Regions from separate parts of the Homo sapiens genome. Here all the other regions are linked to region 1. The links are contacts of gene promoters, found by promoter capture Hi-C in blood cells and fetal thymus (Javierre and others, 2016). All regions are on one chromosome and are shown on one strand. The core of a region is centred on a gene start or on the middle of the fragment in contact, and the rest is flanking DNA. Distances in the headings are between cores, read along the strand shown. Region 1 holds the start of FKBP9 (FKBP prolyl isomerase 9). Region 2 overlaps BBS9 (Bardet-Biedl syndrome 9). Region 3 has its middle 11 kb from the start of LINC00997. Region 4 has its middle 8.4 kb from the start of RP9. Region 5 overlaps RP9 (RP9 pre-mRNA splicing factor).

What was found. Contacts are between HindIII fragments. The CHiCAGO score rates a contact against its expected background, and 5 or more counts as called.
Region 2: a fragment that was not itself captured here is called in contact with the fragment with the promoter of FKBP9 in region 1 in 1 of 17 cell types (neutrophils); the score reaches 5.8 in neutrophils.
Region 3: a fragment that was not itself captured here is called in contact with the fragment with the promoter of FKBP9 in region 1 in 1 of 17 cell types (erythroblasts); the score reaches 5.0 in erythroblasts.
Region 4: a fragment that was not itself captured here is called in contact with the fragment with the promoter of FKBP9 in region 1 in 1 of 17 cell types (neutrophils); the score reaches 6.7 in neutrophils.
Region 5: a fragment that was not itself captured here is called in contact with the fragment with the promoter of FKBP9 in region 1 in 1 of 17 cell types (total B cells); the score reaches 6.5 in total B cells.

The regions. Positions count from the first base shown.
Region 1 is chr7:32,956,160-32,958,762 of GRCh38, reverse strand. FKBP9 (FKBP prolyl isomerase 9) reads right to left here and starts at 1,323. Exons shown (of 10, transcript NM_007270.5): 1 at 969-1,323. The coding sequence starts at 1,189. RefSeq lists a silencer at 1,067-1,536 and enhancers at 1,627-1,676, 1,526-2,476. The HindIII fragment of the contact is 4,605 bases long and covers 1-1,706 here.
Region 2 is chr7:33,141,437-33,144,039 of GRCh38, reverse strand. All of the region lies in intron 1 of BBS9 (Bardet-Biedl syndrome 9), which reads right to left. Among named protein-coding and RNA genes, the nearest start is that of BBS9, 13 kb to the right of the region's middle. The HindIII fragment of the contact is 4,729 bases long and covers 1-2,603 here.
Region 3 is chr7:32,767,969-32,770,571 of GRCh38, reverse strand. No RefSeq gene overlaps it. Among named protein-coding and RNA genes, the nearest start is that of LINC00997, 11 kb to the right of the region's middle. The HindIII fragment of the contact is 240 bases long and covers 1,164-1,403 here.
Region 4 is chr7:33,116,485-33,119,087 of GRCh38, reverse strand. No RefSeq gene overlaps it. Among named protein-coding and RNA genes, the nearest start is that of RP9, 8.4 kb to the right of the region's middle. The HindIII fragment of the contact is 8,233 bases long and covers 1-2,603 here.
Region 5 is chr7:33,097,994-33,100,596 of GRCh38, reverse strand. RP9 (RP9 pre-mRNA splicing factor) reads left to right here. Exons shown (of 6, transcript NM_203288.2): 2 at 36-66; 3 at 1,161-1,290. Among named protein-coding and RNA genes, the nearest start is that of RP9, 10 kb to the left of the region's middle. The HindIII fragment of the contact is 2,651 bases long and covers 1-2,575 here.

The DNA.
Region 1 (2,603 bases), core at 74-2,573:
GAGAGAAGGAGTTCTGGGCTTGATATAGGGCCTGGTATAAAGCAGAGTGACGGTCCTGGACTACCTCCTGCCCACGAGAGGTGTCGTGTTGTGTTTTGTTTTGTGATGGGATCTCTCTCTGTCTCCCAGGCTGCAGTGCAATGGCACGATCATAGCTCACAGCAGCCCCAAACTCCTGGGCTCAAGCGATCCTCCCGCCTCGTTCTCTCAAAGTGCTGGGACTACAGGCGTGAGCCACCACGCCCAGCCCCAAGAGAGGTTTTTGTATGGCAGGAAAGGAAGGGCAGTGGTAGTTGCGCACACAGACTCTGGAGTTGGATTAAACAATCTGACTCCATTGTTTAAACACGTTTCTTAGCCGCAGTTGCTTGTTACCTTACTGATAAAATGAGGGTAGTGATAGTACCTACCTCACAAGACTGCTGTACAATTAAATGAGTTCACTACAATATGGAAAGTACTTAGAACTACACCTACACATTGTTAACAGCTCATTGTATGTTTGGGGCTGCTAGCCTCTTCATCATTGTTCTGTGTGAGAAGCACCATCTGACTAGATTCCCAAGGGAGCGGAGGGAAGGAACAGGAAAGGGCGAAGAGAGGCAGGCACGAACATCCACTCTTGGGGGTCCAGTTGTGCAACGTGGCCTCCACTTACACTGATTATTTTACACTGATTTTGCGTGTGTCCATGCGCTGGGAGGAAAGGGAGGACGTGGTCTGCCCCAACCCCGCTGCTCAAGGTCCTCCAAGGGTCCAGTCCCCGGCTGGCAGCCTAGGGCACGTGAGGGCCGGGAGGCTCACCCGCGGCGGAGGGTCTGGGGTCCGGGAGGATCTGGGCAGCGGAAGAAGGGAGGAGCGCGGCTGCACGGGGCGGAGCTAGGGGAGGTCCGGCAGGAGGGAAAGGCCTGTCCGGAGAGAGGGACGCGCATCCGCTGAGGCCGCGCCGGGCGCCAAGGGCGCGGTACCTGGAGTCGAACTTCTGGCCGTCGGGGAACGTCCCCACGTAGTGGTAGCGCACGAAGTCGCCGCTGCGCACGGTGCGCGGGCACTCGTCGGGCACGAAGCGCCGCTCGATCTGCAGCTCCGCGTCGGAGCCCAGGCCCGCCACGGGCGCTGCCTGCCCGGTCACCCAGAGCAGCAGCAGGAGCAGCGGTGGCGGCGGGGGCCTCCAGCCCCGGAACGCCATCGGGGCGGCGAGAAGAGTGGCGCGGACGCAGCGCGGCGCTCGGGCGGCACGGGTCGGCCTGGGCGTTCGGCTGCGTTTGCAAACGTGGACCGGGTCTCCTGGCCCTACCCGGGCTGCAGCCGCCACCCCGTCTCCCCGGCCGCCCGCCCTCCCGGCCGCAGCTCCAGGGGAGGAGCCCAGCCTGGCCGCGCGCCGAGGGCGGGCCTGCTGCGCCCTGCCCCGCCCGGCATTGGGAATGTGCGTGCCGCAGCGGGGAGGGGGGCTGGGAACTCCAGTGGGGACCAAGTCTGGGCCTAGAGAGGGCGTGTCCCCGAGCGAGACACTGTGATCTCCGGACAAGGCTTTGGCCCAAAGTCGGAAGAGAAAAGCGCGTACTGCCCAAGCCCACCCGCTGGTCTCCGCCCGTCCCTGGAGACACCGGGTTTGGTGCCGTGAGGGGCTCCTACGTGGCCGTGGATCCAATTTTCCCTTGCTGCTTTGGAGAGGGAGGGAAAATTAGATTTTAATTTTTTAAGCTTAGTTACAAGGGTATGGTCTACCTTGAAAGAGACCGAAACCATCCTTCAGGACTTTTTTTTTTTTTTTTTAATACTGCTTAAAGGAAAAGGAAGGCCGGGCGCCGTGGCTCACGCCTGTAATCCCAACGCTTTGGGAGGCCAAGGCAGGCGGATCACGAGGTCAGGAGATGGAGACCATCCTGGCCAACATGATGAAACCCCGTCTCTACTAAAAATACAAAAAAATTAGCCAGGCTTGGTGGCGCGTGCCTGTAGTCCCAGCTACTCGGGAGGCTGAGGTAGGAGAATCGCTGGAACCCGGGAGGCGGAGGTTGCAGCGAGCCGAGATCGCGCCACTGCACACCAGCCCTGGCGACAGTACGAGACACTGTCTCCAAAAAAAGAAAAGGGAGGCATGTATTGCGAGAGGCTCCCGTGACACTTGTCTAGGCAAAAGTTTTAAGGCACCGTGAGGGTCCTCCAAGCCATCAGCGGCCGCACTGTGAGCTGATACTTGCAGACATCCTACAAGCTCCCATATACGAGCCTATGCCAGGGAGGACTTCATCATAGAGACCCAGAAGCCACAGGAATCCATTAGAGTAATCAGATGCACTTGGAATTGGAATTGGGTGTTATAATTTATTAAAATTTTGGAATAATGAAAGCAAATCACCAACTCTTTCTCAACTCGTTTTGGAAGCAAACACAATTCTGATACCAAAACCTGGCAAAGAGAGCAACAAAAAAGAAAAATAAAACTGAAAAAACAGGGCACGATCTAATTTATAAATATAAATGCAAAAATACTGAATAAAACGTAATAAAATCGGATTCAACCGCATATTAGGCCAGGCGCAGTGGCTCACACCTGTAACCCTAGCACTTTGGGAGGCCGAGGTGGTTGGATCACCTGA
Region 2 (2,603 bases), core at 58-2,557, 190 kb before region 1:
AGTTTCCTACAGAACTGGAAAAAATATGTGCAAGTCATATATATGATAAGGAATTAATATCCAGGATACATAAAGAACTCCTACAACTCAACAACAACAACAAAAACAAACCATCCCATTAAAAAATGGGCAAAAGAACCTGAACAGACACATCTCCAAAGAAGATACACAAATGAGCTGGGTGCGGTGGCTCATACTTGTAATCCCAGCATCTTGGGAGGCAGAGGCAGGAGGATCACTTGGGGCCAAGAGTTCAAGACCAGCCTGGCCAACATAGTGAAACCTCATCTCTACTAAAATACAAAAATTAGCCAGGCATGGTAGTGGGCACCTGTAATCCCAGCCACTCAGGAGGCTAAGGCAAAAGAACTGCTTGAACCCAGGAGGCGGAGGTTGCAGTGAGCCAAGGTCATGCCACTGTACTCCAGCCTGGGTTACGGAGTGAGGCTCTGTCTCAAACAACAACAAAAAAGATATACAAATGGCCAAGGAGCATATGAAAAGATGCTCAAAATCACTAATTTTGAACTGAAAATCAGTTCAAAATTTTTGATTTGCATATCAAAACAATATCACCTCACATCCATTATCAAAAAAAACAAAAATATATTCGACCTAAGAATGATGATTGCAAGAAGAAAAAAACACAAAATAACAAGTGTTGGCAAGGACATGGAGAAATTGGAATCTCTGTACGCTGTTGGTGGGAATATAAAATGGTGTAGCTACTATGGAAAACAGTGGGTAGGTCCCACAAAAAATTAAACATAGGGCCGGGCACAGTGGCTCAGGCCTGTAATCCCAGCACTTTGGGATGCCAAGGCGGGTGGATCATGAGGTCAGGAGATCGAGACCATCCTGGCTAACACAGTGATACCCCGTCTCTACTAAAAATATAAAAACTTAGCCAGGTGTGGTGGCAGGCGCCTGTAGTCCCAGCTACTCGGGAGGCTAAGGCAAGAGAATGCCATGAACCTGGGAGGCAGAGGTTGCAGTGAGCCGAGATCGCGCCACTGCACTCCTGCCTGGGCGACAGAGCGAGACTCCATCTCAAAAAAAAAAAAGTTAAACCTAGAAATTTTGATCCAGCCATCCCACTTCTTGGTGGATATCCAAAAGAATTAAAGACAATCTCAGAGAGATATTTTTACACACGGATTTACTGTATCATAATTCACAATAACCAAGAGGCAGAACCAACCTAAACATCCATCAATGGATAAATGGATAAAGAAAATGTGGTATACCCATACAATGGAATATTATGCAGCCTTAAAAAGGAAGGAAACTGACATCTGCTATGTAGATGAACCTTGAGGACATCATGTTAAGTAAAATAAGCCAGTCACAAAAAGACAAATACCATATGATTCCACTTATGTGAGGTACCTAGAATAGTCACAGAAACATTAAGAATGGTGATTGTCAGGGGCTAGGGAGAAAGGAGAACTGTTAATAGGTATATAGTGTTGACTTCGCAAGATGAGAAGTTCTGGAGATTGGTTGCACAATAATGTCAATTTACTTACCATTACTGAACTATATAGTTAAAAATGGTTAGATGTTCAATTTTATGTCACATTATTTTACCACAATTAAAAATAAAAAATATACAGTTTTAGTTTTTTACAAAAAGGAATACAGTAGACCACTTAGTACAATACCTGGCACATAATAAGCACTCAATAAGTGTTAGCCATTGCTCTGGTTTTGATCCCCTTTTATGATGTTTTAAACTTACATTAAAGAAAAAAACTCAGTGTTCTGGTTAAACACACTATGGTACATCTACACCATACCAATATAACTTGAGAATTTAGGCCAGGCGCGGTGGCTCACACCTGTAATCCCAGCACTTTGGGAGGCCGAGGCGGGCGGATCACGAGGTCAGGAGATCAAAACCATCTTGGCTAACACGGTGAAACCCCGTCTCTACTAAGAATACAAAAAATTAGCCGGGCGGGTAGTCCCAGTTACTCGGGAAGCTGAGGCAGGAGAATGGCATGAACCCGGGAGGCAGAGCTTGCAGTGAGCCGAGATAGCACCACTGCAGTCCGGCCTGGGCAAAAGAGCGAGACTCCATCTCGAGAAAAAAAAAAAGAATTTAAAACATAACTGACACTTGCAACTTGGATAGACTGCAAGAGCATTATGCTGAATGAAAAAAAAATCCAAAAAGCTAAAATATTAAATAATTACATTTCTAACTCTCAAAATGACAAAATCATACTAATGTAGAACAGATAGGTGGTTGCTAGGTTTACAGGAGGGTGTAACTATGAGGAGCTAATAATAAAAGGCAATTTCTTTGGGATTAATTTCTTAGAACTATCTACAAAAAAAAAGTGCATCTAACATAAAACCTGGTAAAATCCAAATCAAATCTATAGTTTAACTTTAGTATTATACTAACATCAATTTAATGGTGGGCTGGGCACGGTGGCTAACATCTATAATTAGCCTGGGCAACATAGGGAGACCCCATCTCTACAAGGAATAAAAAAATTAGATGGGCATAGTGGTCCATGCCTGTAGTCCCAACTACTGTCAGGAGTCTGAGGTGAGAGGATCAATTGAGCCCAGGAGTTCGAGGCTGCAGTGAG
Region 3 (2,603 bases), core at 34-2,533, 190 kb after region 1:
AATTTTCCAGAGGTTACATGGCATGTTATAATGCAACAGATTAAGTGCAGAGGGAGATTAAAATACTCTTTTTTTTGCTAACTACATATTTGTGAGGACTGATTTTCCTTATATATTTCCATCAAAACAGCATATTGCAACAGATTGAATGCAGAAGATATGAAAATCTGTCTTCTATTAAGTCAAACTTAAAGAGATTTGCATAAAGTTAAAACAATGTCACTTTTCTCACTAAATTTTTGTTGAAAATAGTTATTTTCATATAAAAGATATTTCTGTTAATATAGTGAGTTTATTATTGTTATTTGTAAATGATTTATAAACAAATATTTTTTCATTTTAAAGTTTTAACATGAATGGATTATAAATATCCATGTAAATATCAATGCATACAATACACTTAAGCAATCATAAAGGACTTGTTTGGTCTTTTTGAGGCCAAAATATTTAAGAATGGCTGCTCTAGAGTGCTTTGATAAGGGATCACATCAGCATGTTGGTATAGCCCTCAAAACACCTCTGCAGAGGTGTCCTTCCTTGTTCCAAGACATCACATCAACACATGGCCATATTTCCCAACTTGGCTCTCATTTGGACATTTATATGCATACATAACCACATTAGATTAAAGTCTATCTTTATGTGAAAAAAATGCATTTAATCTCTAGTGGAAAGAGGAAGAATTAGAGATGTCTTGAGTTTACCAGCAGATATCTAGATGGTTAGAAGAAGTGATAAAGTTGGACTCTTAGGAGGTAACATTCGTATTCCAGTTGGACCAGGGGAAAACATTTAGATGTAAGCAAAGGAGGCCTACACAGTTCCTGGCCATGAGGTACGTGAGCTCTGACCCCCTGGGATGCTCCTAATTACCATCCCATTGAAGAGTTGCACCAGAGCCACCTGGATAAATCACCTGGGTGAGTTGCTGTAAATACAGATTTCCATGTTCTACTCAGAACCCAGTAAGTCAGAATCGAGGTTGGGGGTTCAGAAATCTGGATAAAAAATAAATTCCTTGAGTGATTCATGATGCAGCCAGGCTTGAGAACATTGGATTGGCCTCCTTAAAGTCTGTCAGATAGTTATGATGATGTTTGAGTTACACTGTTTGCCACAAATAGCTCTTCCAGTTGCCTACCATGGGCCCAAAGTCCCAAGCTTTGGTGATGAGTTCTTTGGGGTTAGAGCAGCAATATCTCCAGTGTTCCCTATATAGAGGATGAATCTTCTCCTGAGGAATGCTGTGTTCAGCTGTGCTCTGGGGCTAACATCACCGCATAGTGGGGTATTATGCACTTGAGATCTCCACCCTGGGGGACAAGGAAGGGCAGAAAGAATGAAAACAAGCAGGAGGAGACTCTTTGGATGAATATTGAAGTGGGAAACCAGGAGCAAAAGCTTAAGGATTCCAGGTCCCCTTGGCAGGCAAGAAGAGAACAGAAGATGGATATTGATTTCTTCTGAACTGACTCACAATGCTCTGTGGAGGAGCCAAGTCGTTTCTGCAAACTTTGAAAAATGTTGGCATCAGTGTTCCTGCTATCACTGGATGCTAGTCATAGATGATGGCTGTGAACACAGAGAAGGATCTTTCAGCTGTCTCTGCTGTTTTCTGTATGTAACCGAGACCCAGTTGATCACCTCCCTGTTTCTAGTCTGGCTCCCTTCTCTGCACTGCTTCCAAAATAACCTGAACACCCTTGAACCTGCCAGCTAGAGCAAAAAAGAGACTCTGCCAGCCCCTCTCTGTACATCTCCTCCCTCTCCCCACAAAGATATTTCAATCTGGACTCTTACAAAAAGTGATTTCCTGCTTTGCTTTAGAGTTTTATCACTGATATGGTTTGGCTCTGTGTCCCCACCCAAATCTCATCTTGTAGCTCCCATAATTCCCACGTGTTGTGGAAGGGACCCAGTGGGAGATGACTGAATCATGGGGATGGGTCTTTCCTGTACTGTTCTTGTGATAGTGAATGGGTCTCACAAGATCTGATGGTTTTAAAAATGGGAGTTTCTCTGCACAAGGTTGCTCTTTGACTGCTGCCATCCATGTAAGATGTGACTTGCTCCTCCTTGCCTTCTGCCATGATTGTGAAGCCTCCCCAGCCATGTGGAACTGTAAGTCCAATAAACCTCTTTCTTTTGTAAATTGCCCAGTCTTGGGTATGTCTTTATCAGCAGTGTGAAAAATGGACTAATACAATTACCTATGTGTGCATTGCCAAATATGATAATTTAATTTTGGCTAGTTTTGAATTTCATATAAATGAGATCATATGATATCTTTAATGTCTCTGTCTTTGACCTTTATATTATGTTTTTAGAAGTTTTTTTATGTTGCTGCAAGCATATGCAGTTTCTTCATTTTTTTTTGTTGCTGTAAAGTATTCCATTGTATGAAATATACCATAGTTTATTTATCTATTCTACTGCTAATGGGCATTTGTTTTGCCTCCAATTTGAGGCTCTTATAATTAGTGCTATTAAGAATATTTTTTCATATCTATTATGGTGTATATCAGTCTGATAGTCTTTGATTATTAACTGGGGCATTTAATCTCTTTGCACTTATAATTACTAATAAGTTTGGATAAAAAAAC
Region 4 (2,603 bases), core at 33-2,532, 160 kb before region 1:
TACAATCTATCAAGATTGAACCATGAAGAACTCCAAAACCTAAACAGACCAATAACAAGTAACGAGATTTAAGCCATAATAAAAAAGTCTCCCAGTAAGGAAAAGCCCAAGACCCAGTGGCTTCACTGCTGAATTCTACCAAACATTTAAGGAAGAAATAATAACAATCCTACTCAAGGTATTCTGAAAAATAGAGGAGGAGGAAATACTTCCAAACTCATTCTATGAGGCCAGTACCCTGATATGATAACCAGACAAAAACACATCAAAAAAAGAAAACTACAGGCCAATATATCTGATGAATATTGATGTAAAAATCCTCATCAAAATACTAGCAAATCAAATTCAAGAATATATTAAAAGATATTCATCACGACCAAATGGGATTCATCCCTAGCATGCAAGGATGGTTCAACATATGCAAGTAAAACAATGTGATACATCATATCAACAGAATGAAGGACAAGAACCATATGATCATTTCAATTGATGCTGAAAAAGCATTTGATAAAATTCAACATCCATTCATGATAAAAACCCTCAAAAAACTAGGCAAGGAAGAAACATACCTAAACATAATTAAAGCCGTATACGGCAGACCCATAGCTAGTATCATACTGAATGGGGAAAAATGGAAAGCCTTTCCTCTATTATCTGGAAAACAGCAAGGATGCCCACTATTATTCAACATAGTATTGAAAGTCCTAGATAAAGCAACCAGACAAGAGAAAGAAATAAAAGGCATCCAAATTAGAAAGAAAGAAGTCAAATTACTCTTGTTTGCAAATGATATGACCTTATATTTGGAAAAACCTAAACACTCCACCAAAAACTATTAGAACTGATATATTCAGTAAAGTTGTAAGATACAAAATCGACATACAAAAATCAGTAGGATTTCTATATGCCAACAGTGAACACTGAAAAATAAATTCAAAAAGGAATTCCATTTATAATAGCACACATAAAATTAAATACTTAGGAATTAACTTACCCAAAGTGAAAGATCTCTGCAATGAAAACTATGGGCCAGGCGTGGTGGCTTATGCCTGTAATCCCATCACTTTGGGAGGCCAAGGGAAGTGGATCACCTGAGGTCAGGAGTTTGAGATCAGCCTGGCCAACATGGTGAAACCCCATCTCTACTAAAAATACAAAAATTAACCAGGCATGGTGGTGTATGCCTACAGTTCCAGCTACTTAAGAGGCTGAGGCAGGAGAATCACTTGAATCCAGGAGGTGGAGGTTGCAGTGAGCCGAGATTGTGACACTGGACTCCAGCCTGGGCGACAGAACAAGACTGTCTCAAAAAAAAAAAAAAAAAAAAAAAAAAAAGAAAGAAAGAAAGAAAAAGGAAAAAAAGAAAAGAAAAAGAAAACTATAAAACATTGAGGCAAGAAATTGAAGAGGACAGAAAAAAAATGGAAAGATATTCCACATTCATGTATTGGAAGACTCAATATCGTTTAAACGTTCATATTACTCAAAGCATTCTACAGAATCAATGCAATCCCTATCAAAATACCAATGTAATTCTTTACAGAGATAGAAAAACAATCCTACAATTTACGTGGATCCACAAAAGACCACAATGGCCAAAGCTATCCAGAGCAAGAAGAACAAAACTGGAAAAATCACATTACCTGACTTCAAATTAAATTACAGAGCTATAGTAACCAAAACATCATGGTACTGGCCCAGAGACACACAGACAATGGAACAGAATAGAGAACCCAGAAATAAACTCATACACAGTGAACTCATTTTCGACAAAGGTGGCAAAAACATATACTGGGGAAAAGACCATCTCTTTAATGAATGGTGTTTGGTAAACTGAATATCCATATGCAGAAGAATGAAACTAGACTCCTGTCTCTTGCCATATACAAAAATCAAATTAAAATAGATTAAAGACTTAAATCTAAGACCTCAAACTATGAAACTACTACACAGAACATTGGGGAACATACCTAGGACATTGGGCAAAAATTTCTTGAGTTAACTCCCATAAGTACAGGCAACCAAAGCCAAAATGGAGAAACAGGAACACATTAAGTTAAAAAAAACTTCTGCACAGAGAAGGAAACAATTAACAAAGTGAAGAGACAACCCACAGAAAGGGAGAAAATATTTGCAAACTACCCTTTTGACAAGGGATTAATAAGCAGAATATATAAGGAGTTCAAACAACTCTATAGGAAAAAATCTAATAATCCAATTAAAAATGGGCAAAAGATTTGAATAGACATTTCTAAAAAGAAGACATGCAAATGGCAATCAGGCATATGATCATCAGAGAAATGCAAATCAAAACTACAATGAGATATCATCTCACCCCAGTTAAATGGCTTATGCTCAAAAGACAGGCAATAATAAATGTTGGCGAGGATGTGGGAAAAAAGGGAACCCTCATATACTGTTGGAAGGGATGTAAATTAATATAGCCACTATGGAAAACACTTTGGAGGTTCTTCAAGAAACTAAAAATAGAGTTACCATATGATCCAGCAATCCCACTGCTGGCTATATACCCAAAAGAGACGAAATCAGTATGTCGAAGAGATATCTGCACTTGCATGTTGGTTTGCAATAGCCAAGATTTG
Region 5 (2,603 bases), core at 1-2,500, 140 kb before region 1:
ACATGGTTGATAAGGTTTTGTTTTTTGTTTTCCAGTTACGAAAAACCTCCTCCTGGGCTTATCAAGGTTAGTGTGAAGTTTGTACTCTTGGTTATTCCACAAGACATACTTGTAGACTCAGTAACTTGTTATGAAAAATAATTGCATGATGTTAAATCTCCTTTTACCAAAAGCCTGTTTCTTTTCCTGCAGATGAATGAGGGGTCATAATTTTTAGTTTTGTCACAAGCCTCTGCCTTTGCAGAAATTTCATCAGCCATGTTTCCCTTCCCTGAAGAACCAGTGCAGGCCCACGTGGATTCCTTGGCCATGCCCCTCTTCTCTCTTGCTGGGGATGGCATCTCTAAGCTCCTTTTCCTTGTCGGCCTCACCCGGCTCAGCCCCTCGGTCCATCCTCTGCTGGTTTCTTGAGCTCAGCAGCTCAGAGAGCAGTAAACTCTGAGGAGATCTGACAGCTATCCAGTCCCGCTCCCTGGTACAGGCATCCCTCCTGCAGCTCCCTGGCCAAGGTGCCAGGGTGTGTGTGCACGAGGGAGACTTAGAGTGGCAGGCCACGGCCAAGAAAACTTGCTGTTTCATAACTCTCAGCGAAGAAATATTCTTTAAAAACATGAGTCTATTGTAAATTTAATATTCATAGAAACTTGAAAAAAATCCAAAAGTTTGAAAACACATTAATTGTAAATGCAGTTATTGAGTGGTAAAAATGTACATCAGAGATATAGCATGTGTGTGACTGTAAAACATGACAGGGCCTTCAGGGTATAATAAACTATTCTAGCATAACAGGCCATTTCTATTATTCCAGGAAGCCTGGTTTACTTTAATTCTATATTTTGAGGTAGTGAAACTTTTTTTTTTTAATCTCAGAATCTTATTTGGAGCTCCCCAGTCATTGCTATATAAGGACAGATTTTTCTGCTTCACCAGTAACTTTTCTCTAAGAACAGCTACATTGTTTTTGGTATAGTTCTTCTGGTACATTTGTTTCCTGTTTTTTCAATCAGGTGTAACTTGTCTTTTTTTCTAGTTTTGAGGGGTAACTAAGATGATGTTGGCACCGGAAGCCCAGGAAAAAGCCAGGCAAGGGTGGCTCCAAGGGGAGCAGGAGAGAATCCCAGCGCTCTTGCCATGCTGTTTATACCTGTTCCCTTTTTTAGGAAGATGAGACTAAGCCAGAAGATTGCATACCAGATGTACCAGGCAATGAACACGCCAGGGAATTTCTGGCTCATGCACCAACTAAAGGACTTTGGATGCCACTGGGGAAAGAAGTCAAAGTTATGCAGTGTGAGTGTGGGAGAGTTTCCCTAATCCATGCAACTTACATGCCTCAATTTACAAAGAGTGTTTACTTCTTTTATTTAACTTGTTCTCATCACAGCCCTCTTACAGCCAAGGCACGTTCTCCATCTTCTAGATAAGGAAGCATCCACCCCACCCCCCACCACCGTGCCATGTGAAGAAGAAAGAGGGCTGTCATCTTAAGCCAGGAAGAAAGCTCTCACCACAAACCCACCTTGCTGGGACCCTGATCTCAGATTTCCAACCTACAGAATGAATGAGAAAACCAGTTTCTGTTGTTTAGGCCACCCAGAATACGGCATTTTGTTATGTCAGCCCGAGCTGACTAAGACACCATCTTTCTGCAGGTCCCCTTAGCCTCTCTCCCGTGTTGGATCACCCATTTTCCTGTGTCTTGAGTCTTCTTTATTATCATATTCTCTCCTTATGGTGTAACAAATCCTATGGCTGTTACCTTCAAAATGGGTTTATAGAAGATAAAAATGTTAAGACCTTTACTTTTCTGGAATCGTCTTTAACAGATTTTTAACTACCAGGATATTGAATTCTAATTTAAAAATCAGTTTCCTTGAGAATTTTGATGGGAATGCTTCATTGCCTTGATTATTTGTTAAAAGCAAAGACAACGTGCCTCAGAGTTCAGTATCTATCGGTTTTTCTTCTTTGGGTGGGTTATATTTTCCCAGAGAAGGCTCCCACGTGGAGGGAAAGCCATACTATGAGTGTTCTGGGAGCCGAGTGGAGGGAGTCTGGAAATGTGTCCATCTGCTTTTCATTCATTCGTGTGACCCTTTGTGGCTATTGCAGCAGCTTCCTTCAGACCTACCTGATGTCTCCCTGGTCTCCCTGGCCAGAGACCCTCTGTTTTACCTTTTCCACACATTAAACAACCTTCTACCAGGGTCAGGAAAACAGGGTCTCACTCTGTCACCCGGGCTGGAGTGCAGTGGTGTGATCACAACTTACTGCAGCCTCAACCTCCCAGAATCAGGTGATCTCACATCAGCCTCTGAGATAGCTGGGACTACAGGCATGCGCCACCAGGCTTAGCTAATTTTTTTGTACTTTTGTAGAGATAGGGTTTCACCATGTTGCCTAAGCTAGTCTCGAACTCCTGGCCTCAAGCGATCTACCCGCCTCTGCCTCCCAAAGTGCTAGGATTACAGGTAGGAGCCACTGTGCCCAGCCACCATTAATATTCTAAGAGAACTTGTGATTTTATTTACTTAAAAGTGAGAGTTTTGAACAGACTCAACCTGAGAAAGAAGCTTTTATAGTGTCTAAAATAGTAAATGAGA